2 separate regions of the Homo sapiens genome follow, and region 2 is linked to region 1. The links are contacts of gene promoters, found by promoter capture Hi-C in blood cells and fetal thymus (Javierre and others, 2016). All regions are on one chromosome and are shown on one strand. The core of a region is centred on a gene start or on the middle of the fragment in contact, and the rest is flanking DNA. Distances in the headings are between cores, read along the strand shown. Region 1 holds the start of SELP (selectin P). Region 2 has its middle 17 kb from the start of XCL2.

Region 1 (6,633 bases), core at 348-2,847:
CTTCTGAACATAAAGCCCAGGAGGCAATCGAGAAGGGTTCTTACCCTGGGATCCACATGGAGGTCTGGGAACCTCCTGTGGTTGTCTCTAAAGGTTGGTGTTTATGTCGATGTTTTTGCTTTCATCTGGGAAAGACAAGTTGTAACTTTCATCAAAATCTCAAAGAACTCTCTGATCCAATAAGTTCATACCTTTGAAATAGAGGAGGATGCCAAGGAGAGTAGAAGGAAGAGAGGAATAACTGCTCATTTAAGTTAACCAATTCAGAAGTATGACATGCAAAAAGACAGGACAAAAGTAATTCATATCCTTAGGTCATTGTGGTTCAAACTTAAGACAGGCTCAAACTCCTTCCTCTTCTCTTTATCATACTCTTATTCCTGTTTTCCCCAACACAGAAACCCACATTATAAGTACTTGAAAAGTGTGCTATAGTAAAGCAAAGCAGTAGGATGAATCAGGTGTATGCGGTACTTTTTTCTGGAGTCCCACAGAAAGGTGCTCAAAAACAGAGACCTGCCTGGTTCCTCCATAGCCACAGACTGCAGGATTTCGGACCCTGGGACTATGTGGGATACTCTTGGAAAGTCTGAGGAAAATTGGAAGTAGCTTAACCATGTGCATTTTATCTAGGTGCATATAACATTGCTGAGTTCAAAATGCCTAGCTATCCTTGGATCTTCCCTGAATTAGAAGTAGCCTAACCACGTGCATCTTATCCATGAGCATATAACATTGCTGAGTTCAAAATGCCTAGCTATCCTTGGATCTTCCCTGAATCCTAAACCCCACTATTCCTAAGAATTTTCTTTTTATTGTAACAATAATGGCTAACATTTACTAATCACTTACTATGTGTCAGGCTCAGATCTGGATGCTTTTCAGCAAAATCTTATTTAATCCTCATGATGAAACTATAGAGTATTATTACTATATCCATTTTATAGAAGAAGAAACTGAGTCATTAACAAGATTGAGTCTTAGGGCAGAAAAGGAAACTATGTGGATATTCCAGATCAGTCCCAGAAGATTCATAGGCTCACAGAAAGAAATGGGAGGGATGGGGATGAGAAACTATTCAATTGTAAGCTTGTCCCAGGGCACCTACCCAGTCTTCCATTTATTCCATCATTTATCCCAGAGAGAAGTACAGTCTTGGAAAATGGGGTGACAGGTTTACCATGATCTATTCTCAGAGAGCCCCTATAAATTCTAGTAGGAGGAACAGCAGCTGCGGAGCCAGAGGACAGGCCCCAGATCCCAACATCATGTAGCCTAACAGTGAAGCTTAGATAAAACACAGCCTCTGTAAACCACGATGGCTTTATTTGTAAAATAGAAATAGCAACCTCAACTCACAAGGGTGTTGGGAGGGTCAAAGTGGACAGCAAGTTTAAAAGTACTCACAAAATCTAATAGGCAATTCAACATAAAACTCCATGGCTATCGCTGTTCCTCACTTTCTGAACCTTTACCTGCCTGACTTTACTCCATACCACTCCAACTCACTTCAACCACTTCCCATGCAGAAAAAAATAAACTCACCATCTCCTCTGTGACTCTGCTGGTTTTCTGCCTTCTGCCCAACCCAGACTGCTTACAGTCTCACTGCCTCCCCTCAGTGTCAGGCTGTTTAGAAAAACAACTTCCTATTCACATTCCAGAAACTCACCACAGCCCTTCCCATGAAGTTAGAATGTTGATAATGCAAGAGTAATGTTGGCAGCTTAGAAATAGTGGTTGCCAAGAGGCAAGGGGTCACCCCCTTCCATGGAAGATGGTCTGGAGGCAGGCGCAAGGTGAATTACTCCTGGATATCCCAGGCTGAGCAATGTGGGAACAGTACACACACAAAGGTTTCCTTGGATTATGATATAAGCTCCAATTTAAAGTAGTACATTTGGAAAACATGCTTTGAATTAATTACAATGTGATTTTCCAGTGCCCATTTTCCAGTAATTATGACATGTCAGTGAATGTTTACTATTCCGGCAGCCTTCTGAGGGAAAGAAGCAAAATTAGTAGCACAAAAAAAAATAGAGAGAAATGGAAAAAGCCACTAACAGTTTTCTGGCGCTTGGGAAATTTTATTGGTAAGTTTCAAAATGACGTATTAAATAGACATAGGTCATGTGAAAGGAATTCTGCTTCTTATATCAGAAATAAAAAGGTATACAAATAGATACCTTTTTATTTTCCTCTTCCCATGGGATGTGTAGGACCAAAAAGCTGTTGGCATAGTGGTTAAGACTTCAGCTGTGCTGTTAAACTGCCCGAGACCCATCCTGGCTCCTCTTCTGGCTATCTACTGGGCAAACTACTTAAGCTCTCTATGCCTCTGTTTCCTCAACTGTAAAACAGAATAACAGAACTTGCCTCACCGGGTTGTTGTAGGATGAAATGAGTTAATATGTACAGAGTGATTGAAATGACACTTGGCCCACAATTGATGCTCAACAAATGTTAGTGATTATTATTACTTTTCAGATTGATCTCAGACAGCAAAATCAAGTATCAAGTATTTAGTTTCAAGTCAGAAAGCCATAACTCCTATTTATACTCTTGGAATTCTATTGTACAGTAGTAGGTATTATTCTTCATTCACTTCATGATGGTTACAGCTTGTAAATAGGCATCTCATGGATAAATTTAAAATGGAATGAAGTAGAAACATTGGAAGAAAGTCTAAAGGTAAAGATGAATTAGGGTATATAAGGCTGCATTTGCACGTTGGAATTTGGGACCAAGAAGAAAAAATTAATTATATAGTAGAAGTAGAAAAGATGGTGAAGGAAATGCTGTTGAAGGAATGACTGTAGGGGAATAAGGGAAACTTAGAGAGAGGAAAAAATGAGGAACTTCTTGGCAGCATGATGCAGTTCAGAGTCCAGACCCTAGAGTCAGACTGCCTGGCTCCACCACCTACCAGCTGTGTTGGGCGTTACTAATCTCCCTATAACTCAGTTTCCTCAGTGATGTGGTTTGGCTGTGTCCCCACCCAAATCTCATCTGGAATTGTAGCTCCCATAATTCCCACAGGTTGTGGGAGGCACCTGGTAGATCATTGAATCATGGGGGTGGTTTCCCCCATACTGTTCTCATGGTAGTGAATAAGTCGCATGAGAGCTGATGGTTTTATAAGGGGAAACCCCTTTTGTTTGGTTCTCATTTCTCTCTCTTCCCTGCTGCCATGTAAGACGTGTCTTTTGCTTTCTACCATGATTGTGAGGACTCCCCATCCACGTGGAACTGTGAGTCCATTAAACCTTTTTTTTTTTAATAAGTTATCCAGTCTCGGGTATGTCTCTATCAGCATCATGAGAACAGAATAATACACTCAGCAATGTGAATAATAAGGATAATAATCACCAAATACATAGACATGTAAGGACCATTAAATGAATTTAATGTGTTTGGAACAATACCTATCACGCTGTTAAGTGTAAGTTTAAGTGTTGGCTATTATTCTATAAGACTTGCCTCCATGTCTTTCTGTTCTTACTTTCACTCACCAGCCCCTCTTTTTGGCATTGCCTCATGTTAGAAAAAATATATATAGTCTCAGATGGGGATGAGGAAGTGTGGTATGTAGACTAGTAGGTTCTTTTTTTGAGACAGGGTCTCACTCTGCGGCCCAGGCTGGAGTGCAGTGGCATGATTACTGCTTGCTCCAGCCTTGACCTCCTGGGCTCAAGCAATTCTCCCACCTCAGCCTCCTGAGTAGCTGGGACTATAGATGTGTGCCATCACTACTGGCTAATTAAAAAAAAAAATCTCTAGAGATAGGGTCTCTCTATATTTCCCAGGCTGGTCTTGAATTCCTGGGCTCAAGTGATCCTTTCACCTCAGCCTCCCAAAATGTTGGGATTACAGGCATGAGCCACCATGCCCAGCCTGGTAGTTTCTTATTTATAATAAGTTTGATATTAATAAGTTCAATTGATCATATGTTTTTAAGTTTGATATTGTTAAATTTTAGTGAATATAAGGAAAGCATAAAAAGATTCCTATGCAGGTGACATTAGCAAGATGGTGGAGTAGGAGATGTCAGCCTTATGCCCCAACAAAAAAACAAACATAGACAGTTATACACAAACCAAAATAGCCCTCACAAGGGTGGGGAGTTGGGGGATGGGGCTCAAGAGCCTGTTAAAGAATTTGGAACAACACAATGGAGAAAAGAAAGAATATCCATGTAGAAGAATCACCGGTGAGACTGGCATATATGAGACACCAGGAGATAGCTACGAATAAAGAAATTTGTAGGCTATCTGTGTCAGTCATGTGACACAGAGCCACTGAGGCCCCCAGTGTCCTGCTCCACAGAGGACACTGGCATCTTTTATCCAACAGCCATTCCCATAGCAGGATGCTAAAAAGGGAAACACAGTTGCACTACCCCTCACACCCCCTCACCAAGAAGCAGCTATTGTTGCACTGCCCCAGGACTGGGGCCAGGGTTACCACCTCTCACAAGTCTATGTGTGTTCCTGATCCCCAAAAGTTGTGGCTGCTCTACAGATATTCACACTCTGGACTGTGGCTCTGTGGCTGCAGTGCACCTCCTCATGTCTCAGACACTGGAGTCACTGCTGTTGTGAACTAGATCTCACCCTGGGACCCCAAGCCAAGTTCTCTCTGTGAAAGTCTTTGCTCCAGACACTAGTTCAGCCACTGTAGAAAGGTAACCCATATTCTCAACTCCAGAGCTGCTGTAGTAATGTGCACACCTGCGCTCCAGACCCTGTCTCTGAGGCTGTACTACACACACCCACACCTCCAACACCAGAGCCACCACTATAGTGAGCTAGTGAACACCCTGGGTCCTAGAGTCAAGGTTTCTCTGTGCCTGTCCATGCTCTAGTCACCAGCTCAGCCACCAAGGAGAGCTAGCCCACACCCTGGATCCTGGAGCCACTGTAGCTCTGCGTATGCATGCAGTAAAGTCCCTGGCTCCTTAGCTGCTTTATAAGTACCTGCATTTTACACACCATTATCAATGTGATAGTAAGTATGCCTGTGCCTTGGGCACTGGTACCATTGCTACAATTGAATCTGGTGCTGTGGTCCCTCCATGCATGCCCATGCTTCAGGCCTTGGCTCTTGGCCACTCCATGGGCACTGTTCATCAGACACCAGTGTCACCACCACCAGGAGCAGGCCTGCAAGTTAGACCTAATTCCAAGAGGGATGTCCTCAGTCATGACTTCCCAGGTGGGGAAAAAAAGAGATATGGAGGACTTGTCACAATTGAAAACCTCAACAGCCTCATTGCCACTGTAGATACCCACAGTGTTGGCCTCTAAGGATCCCTGTAGTATTCACTAACACCAACCTCAGCTGACAGATCTGCATGGAGACCACACAGCTTTGCCCCTACTGAAGTCAGAACTTTTGCATCCCACCCAGCCAGCATCCTCGCATTATTCCACATAAGAAGGTATTTCTCCACCAAAGTCAGCCCATACAGCCTGAAATTGGGGCAGATCCACCAGATGCTCAGACAGCAGTGTAAGGCAGCAAGAAACATGAAAACCCAAATTAAAATATCACCACCTAAGAAACACAATAATTTCCCAGTAGCTGACCCAAAAGAAATGGAGTACTACAAATGGCCTGACAATGGATTCAAGATAATTGTTTTTAAAGAAGCTCAGTTACTTTGAAGCAAACACAGAGAAACAATTTGGTGAAATCAGAGAAACAATAAATGCACAACATAAGAAATGTAACAGAAAGATTGAAATCATAAAAGAAATTGGAGCTGAAAAATATAATGAATGAAGTGAGAAATGCAGTAGAAATCACCAGTAGCAGACTTGATCAAGCAGAAGAAAGAATCTGTGAACTGAAGACAGGTTTTTGAAAATATACAGTGAGAGGAGAAAAAAGAATGAAAAGAAATGATGAAAGCCTACAAGATTTATGGGACAGCATCAAGAGAGCTAACATTCAGCCAGACTCAGTGGCTCATGCCATAATCCCAGCGCTTTGGGAGGCCAAGGTGAGTGGATCACCTGAGGTCAGGAGTCAAGACCAGCCTGACCAACATGGTGAAACCCAGTCTCTACTAAAAATACAAAAAAATTAGCCAGGGATTGTGGCACATGCCTGTAATCCCAGCTACTGGGGAGACTGAGGCAGCAGAATCTCTTCAACCTAGAAGGCAAAGGTTGCAGTGAGCTGAGATCATGCCACTGCACTCCAGCCTGGGTGACAGAGTGAGACTGCATCTCAAAAAATAAAAACAAAAATTAAATTAAAAATTAAAAAAGAGAGCTAATGTTCACATTACAGTAGTTTAAGAAGGAGAAAATAGAGGAAAAGGGGGTCAGAAAGCATATTTAAAGATTGCTAGCTGAAAATTTCCCAAATCTGAAATAAAATATTAATATTCAGGTACAGGAAGCTTAAAAATCTCCAGTCAGGTTCAATCCAAAAAAGACTACACCAAGACATAATAATCAAACTATCAAAAATCAAAGACAAAGACAGGATCCTAAAATCAGCAAGAGAAAAGAAGCATATCACAGACAAGAATTGCAATAAGGCTATCACAAGATTTCTCAGCAGAATGCTTCTAGGCCCAGAGAGAGTGAGATGATATATTCAAAGTGTTGAAAGAGAAAAAAC
Region 2 (7,233 bases), core at 4,439-6,938, 1.1 Mb before region 1:
TGGGATACCAGCAAAGGCCAATGTGACACTGTTCCATGAGGACCTCTTTACCACAGACAGCAAGAGAGGGCGCTCCTTCAGAAGAAAGCATAAGTCAGAAAGTTCACTTACTTACATAAAGTACACAATATAGATAGAACCCCATGACCAACAGGGAGAGAGAAACAGAGAGAGAGAGAGAGAGAGAGAGAGAGAGAGGAAGAGATGACAAACCCAGTAAATGAGAAAACAAAATGCGAGGAAATACAGAACATAGAAAATAGAGAAGTCTGCAGGGAGTTATTTTTAAAATAACAACAGTTAAAATATTAAAGTAAATGGGCTGGGCGTGGTGACTCATGCCTGTAATCCCAGCACTTTGGGAGGTCGAGGCGGGCAGATCACCTGAGGTCAGGAGTTTGAGACCAGCCTGGCCAACATGGTGAAACCTTGTCTCTACTAAAAATACAAAAAATTAGCTGGGCATGGTGGTGTGCCCTGTAGTCCCAGCTACTCAGAAGGCTGAAGCAGGAGAATCACTTGAGCCTGGGAGGTGGAGGTTACAGTGAGCCAAGATTGCACCAATGTGTTCCAGCCTGAATGGCAGAGCAAGACCCTGTCTAAAAAAAAGAAAAAAAATTTAAAAAAAATGAAGTAAAGGATATAAAGAAAAAAATTAGAAAGAGCTAAACAAACATATTGAGAATGATAATTTAAAGAAACCTCAACAGACAGATTAAACATTAACTAGACATATTTGAAAAGAAAATAGGCAAATAGGAATTTAGCTCTGAAGAAATTAGTTAGAATACAGAACAGGTAAGGAAAATGTGGAAAATGTAGAAGAGAGGTTAAGAAAGATGGAAGATAGAATGAGAAGGTCCAACATATTTCTAATAGGAGCTCCAGACAGAGAGACTAGATGCAATAAAGGAGAAGAAATATCAGTGATGATGGCTGAGAATTTAACAAAACTGATGAGAGATGAGTTTTCAGATTGAAGAAATGCATTCAGTTCCAAGCAGAATGAATTTAAAAATTTCTACACCCAGACATATTGTAGTAGAAGTGGAAAACATCAAAGACAGAGGGAAAATTCTTAAAAGCTACTAGAAAGAAAAGATACATTTCTTAGAAAATAACAAAAAATTTCACAAGCAACGATTTTTTATAAAAACAATAAACACTAGTTGATATCTGTATTAGGTAATTCTTGAAGCACTATAAAGAAATACCTGAGGCTGGGAAATTTATAAGAAAAGAGATCTAATTGGCAGGCTGTTCAGGAAGCACAGTGGCATCTGCTTCTAAGGGGGGCCTCAGGAAGCTTCCAATCATGGCAGAAGGCAAAGGGGGAGCAGGCACATAATGTGGCAAGAATGGAGAGAGAGAGAGAGAGAGAGAGAGAGAGTTTGTGAGAGAGTGTTTGTGGGGAGAGGTGCCACACACATTTAAACAATGAGATCTCACCAGAATTCACTATCATGAAGACAGCACCAAGCCATGAGGGATCTGCCCACATGATCCACACATCTCCAACCAGGCCCACCTTTGGCATTGGGGATTACAATTCAACTGAGATTTGGGCAGGTACAAACATCCAAACTATATCAATATTATAAAAAGATGTCTTCAAAATGAGAATAAAATGTTTATGTCAACCTGGAGTCACACGGTTACATAAGCATACAAATGTGAGGCAAATAGTGACATTTTCAGAGATACAAAAACTTAATTTCCTAGTTACTTCAGTGAAAGAACTAATAAATATTACTCCTGGAGAAAAAAAATTAAACCTGAAGGAGGGATTGGGATGTTAGGAACAACTGAGGCTAAAAAACTGGTGTTATGCAGGTAATTCCAAATTAAGTACAGATGTACAAAAGGGATTAATTATTTTTAAGACAAATGGTTAAAAACTAGGTAGAACTAAAATATTATACTGTGATGGCACAGAAGATGGAACTTTTAAGACTAGAAGTAAAAGTTCTAAAATTCTTGTCTTAGCAGGGAGGACTATAGAGGATTCACTAATATGTAGATTTTCTTAAGCCAATATGCTTGTTGAATAAAACAAATAAACAAAACAAGTGTCTCTCTCCCTCAATGGGTAAAAGATTTAAACAGCTACTTCACTAAGGAAGACATAACGATGACAAATAAGCACATGAAAAGGGGTGTGATCAGTAGCTATTAAGAAAATGCAAATTGATACCACAATGAAATACCACTACCTACCTAATAAGTGGCTAAAATTAAAAAGACTGACCACATCAAGTCTTGACAGGAATGTAGAAAAACTGGAACTCCGACACATTGATGGTGGTAATATAAATGGTACGACTTTGGAAAACAGACAATTTTTAAAAAGTTAAACATGCACCCACAATATAATTCAGTGATTCCACTTCTAGGTTTTTGCCCAAGAGAAAAAGAAAATATGTCAATATCAATACCTGTATATTTATAGCAGCTTTATTTTTAATAGTCTCAAAGTGGAAAATACACAGATTTCCATCAACAGATGAGTGGTTAAATAATTGTGGTTTATCCATACAACAGAATATTACTAAGCAATAAAAAGAAATGAACTAACAATGAGAAAACATGGACGCAGGGAGGGGAACATCACACACCAGGGTCTGTCGGGAAGTGGGGGTAAAGGAGACCGAGAGCATTAGGACAAACATCTAAGGCATGCGTAGCTTAAAACCTAGATGGCATGTTGATAGGTGCAGCAAACCATGGCACATGTATACTATGTAACAAACCTTCACGTTCAGCACATGTATCCCAGAACTTAAAGTAAAATTTAAAAGATAAAAAAAAAAAAGGAAAACAACCTGCAGAAACATTTTGATTACTAATAGGGGAATTTGAATAAAGACTTTTGTATTCAATAATGTTAAGAAATTACTATTAATTTTGTTATGGGTAACAGTATGATTGTGGTTGGGTGAAAATGTCCTTATTTGTTGTTATGGCAATATATACTAAAATAAAAAAAAAAAGAAATGAACTACAAATACATGCAACAATTCCATGCTCATAATAATATCAAGTGGGCCCAGTTTGGTGGCTCACACCTGTAATCCCAGCAATTTGGGAGGCCAAGGTGGGCGGATCACGAGGTCAGGAGATCGAGACCATCCTGGCTAACATGGTGAAACCCGTCTCTACTAAAAATACAAAAAAAAAAAAAAAAAAAAAAAAAAATTAGCTAGGCGTGGTGGCGGGCACCTGTAGTCCCAGCTACTCGGGAGGCTGAGGCAGGAGAATGGCGTGAATCTGGGAGGTGGAGCTTGCAGTGAGCCGAGATCGCGCCGCTGCACTCCAGCCTGGGCGACAGAGCGAGACTCCGTTTCAAAACAAACAAACAAACAAACAAAACACCTGAGTGAAAAAAGTCAGAAACAAGAGTGTATAAGGTATGAGTCAATTTATACTAAACTCTAGGAAATGCAAACTAATCTATACTTGCAGAAAGCAAATCATTTGTAGTTTGGGGACGTGGGGGCAGGGAAGGATGAGAAGGAGGGTTATGCATGAGAAAACTTTTGGGAGTGATGGATATGTTTATTTTCTTGATTTTAACTTCATGGGTATATATATATATATGTCAAAATCTATCAAATTGTACACTTTATGTGCAAGTTATTGTATGTTACATCTCAATAAAGTAATTTTAAAAACAAAAATATTCATGTTAAAACGTAAGAATGACCACTAAAAGACTAGAAATAGAATGTATAACCTTTAAATTAGTAGAGGGAAACTAAGACAGTAAATATGACTTGATTCACCCAATGAATATGGGACAAGGGGGAAAAAATAGAAGAAATCATGTCTAAAAGAAAAAGTAAGATGGTGTAAATCTGGGGTCAGCAAGCTTTTTTGTAAAAGGCCAAATAATAAATTATTTTGGCTTTGTAGGTAATATCCTTATTGCAACGATTCAGCTTTACTGGTTGAAGGATAAAAGCAACCATCCTAGATGGCTGAGAGTGGCTATGTTTCACTAAAATATTATATACAACAGCACACGCTGGGCTACATTTTTCCCATGGGCCATAATTTGTCAGCTCTTGATATAAAAAATGTTTGTCAATAATCACAATATAAATAGAGTAACCCTATCTATTAAAAGAGTAGATTAAAAATTCAGCTATTTGCTACTTACAAACACACTTTTAAAAACGTAATGATAAAAATAAGTTGAAAGACAAAGATTGGAAAAGACGTGCCAGTAACCTAGCAAATAAAAGTCTAGAAAACAATAGCAGTCTAGCAACAACCAACATTTCTAGAGCCAGGCACTGTGGTTAGTGCTAAGGTCATGTAGTTGGCAAGTGCCAAGCTGGAATCCAAGCCACGCCATTTGTCTTCAAAGTCCACATTTTAAAACATCACTGTATTTTGACTATCAAACAAAACTGAATTTGAGGAAAGAAATAGTTAAAGGTATACAAAGTGATTTTACTGCATGAAAAGTGGTGGGAAAAGTGTCTAAACATGTAACAGCTGTGAACCCATATGCATCTAATAAAATTGGTATGCACGTGCATGCGTGTGCGCATGCACGCGTGCACACACACACACACACACACACACACACACACACACGAGCATTATATGGAGAAATTGACAAATCCAGAATCATAGTAAGGAATTTCAACACATCTTTTCCAGATCACGCAGATAAAACATTGCGAAGAAATACATGTATAAAATATATCAGTGCAAGTAACAACCTTGATCTCATATATTAAAATTTACACTCAACACATAAGAAATATTTATTTATAGAATTATTATAAAAATTGACCACAGAGATAAACATCCCGATCAATTTGGCTATTGTTTTCATTAAAGCAATGAGGTACTTAGAAATAAATCTGACAAAATGTTTGGAGAGACGGCATGCCGTATTGGATGAGCACAAGAACTCTGGGACCGAGTTGCCTGGATTCAAATTCTGATTGTTATACTTTCCAGATGTGTGACCTTAAGAAAATTAGTTAACCTCTCTGTGCTTAAGTTTCCTTATTTGTAACATGACAATAGAATGGGGGAAAATAATTGTTATATTTCATAAGATTGTTGTGAGTCTTAAATGAATTAATGATTTATGAAGTGCTTAGAATAGTGGCTTGGTACATATAAGTGTTCGTTAAATATATACCTAAACGTGAACAAAACCCACACAGAAAATATTGGAGGATGTAAAAATAAACCCAAATCAAGGAAAGTTAGACCAAGATTTAATATTATAAATACGTCTATTCTCCTCAAACTAATGAATATATTCAAAACAGCTTTAATCAAAATATAAAAGTTTTGTTTTATTTAGGCAAAGAGTATCTAAAATTCACATGGAAAGATAGTCAAGAAATCAAGACTAGTTTAAAGGATAACATGAAGAAGATGTTAACAGGCCATACAAATAAAATACCATGATAATAGCACTATATTAAATAAAGTCCACAGAATTGAATAGATAGGTCAGAAGCAAACCTAATCACATATAAGACCATGATATATCATAGAAATGTTGTAACAAATAAATGGGAGAAATAATTGACATTTTTTAGTGTACTCTAAACGTTTTCAGTCATAACCCACAGAAAAAAATATATTTTATTTTATGTTTCAGTACTCAACCAAAGCATATGTGTGTATGTGTTCTGTAAACACTGTTTACCTTTACTATATGAAATGTAGTCTAATATTTTCTATATAATTTAGTTTTTTAAAAAATGGTAGTTACAATCCACTAATTTAAAAAAAGCCCCATTAATATATTACAAATATAGAGTCTGAAAAATACTGGATTAGCTATAAATGTATAGAGAAAACTACCTTTCCATACTGAAAAATATAAAAATAGATCCTTACTTCATACTATACTTCAAAAAAAATTCCAGATAAAGTGGCTAAATATGAAAAACCTTTCAATCAAAATATAATACTTTGATGTTATACTTTTATGTTACACAATGATAAATGACAAAGAAAAACATCAAATAGTTTGAAAACTTCAATTTAAAACTTCTCCATTACTTCCATATAACTAAGAAAATAGGCCGGGCTTGGTGGCTCATGCCTGTAATCCCAGCACTTTGAAAGACTGAGGTGGGAGGATAATCTGAGGTCGGAAGTTTGAGACCAGCCTGACCAACATGGTGAAACCCTGTCTCCACTAAAAATACAAAAATTAGCTGGGGGTGGTGGCATGTGCCTGTAGTCCCAGCTACTCAGGAGGCTGAGGCAGGAGAATTGTTTGAACCCAGGAGGCAGAGGTTGCAGTGAGCTGAGATCGAGTCACTGCACTCCAGCCTGGGCAATAGAGTGAGACTCTGTCTCAAAAAAAAAAAAATCTATAGGATTTGTATCCAGAATATTAAAGAATTATTAAACATCAATAAGAAAAATCTAACAACCTAGTGGGAAAATGGACAAAACATACGAAAGGACCATTCACTGAAAAGGAAGTTTGAATGGCCAACCCAAATATATGAAAAATGCTCAAACTTCCTAGTAATTAGGGAAATGCAAGTGAAAACAATGAGACACTATTTCACAATGATCAGATTGGCAAAAACATAAGACTAGCAATATCAAGTTTTGGGAGGACAGGGGAAATAAGAATTCTGATACCATGCCATTAGGAGCAAAACATAAAACACAAACAATAAAAACATCCATCAACTGCTGGATAGTGCTTGCCTCTGCCCAGGGAGGACAGGAAATAGGATGGGGGATGTAGATCCTAAAGGATGTAGATCTTGTATTACTTTACAAAATATCTGAAGCAAATAAGGCACAGTGTCAATTGCTAATTCTGAGTAGAAAGTACATTGATATTTGCTATTTTATTCTCTGTATTTTTCTTCAAATTGAAAACATTTTCTGTGTTTTAAAAAATATGTAAAGAAAGACACTATTATCAAATTTACTTTCTCCTCAACTGATGACATGAACCAATAAATAACTATTGGTGACAATACAAATCCCCAAAAGGCCTTATTGCTGTACATGTTGTCATCAAAGTCCTCAATCGGAGTGGTGGGGGGTCGGGGGATGGGGCATAAATCTAACAAGGAAACTTGCCCCTCAAGATTGAGAAGAATCATTCCTCTGTTCTCTGTTTAGGTTTGTGTAAGCTGCAAGGAGGACCTTCAGAATTGGTGTGTAGAAAATCTTAACCCTTTAAGGGTTCTCAAGTGGTGGAGGAGGGGGGTGCAGAGTAGGGAG

Evidence for each region. The method cuts DNA at HindIII sites, captures the fragments that hold promoters and counts their contacts. A CHiCAGO score of 5 or more calls a contact.
Region 2: a fragment that was not itself captured here is called in contact with the fragment with the promoter of SELP in region 1 in 1 of 17 cell types (non-activated CD4 T cells); the score reaches 6.6 in non-activated CD4 T cells.

Annotation. Positions count from the first base shown.
Region 1 is chr1:169,628,527-169,635,159 of GRCh38, forward strand. It overlaps SELP (selectin P), which reads right to left and starts at 1,598. Exons shown (of 17, transcript NM_003005.4): 1 at 1,546-1,598. The coding sequence starts at 1,548. The HindIII fragment of the contact is 5,122 bases long and covers 1,286-6,407 here.
Region 2 is chr1:168,523,152-168,530,384 of GRCh38, forward strand. No RefSeq gene overlaps it. Among named protein-coding and RNA genes, the nearest start is that of XCL2, 17 kb to the right of the region's middle. The HindIII fragment of the contact is 3,645 bases long and covers 3,867-7,233 here.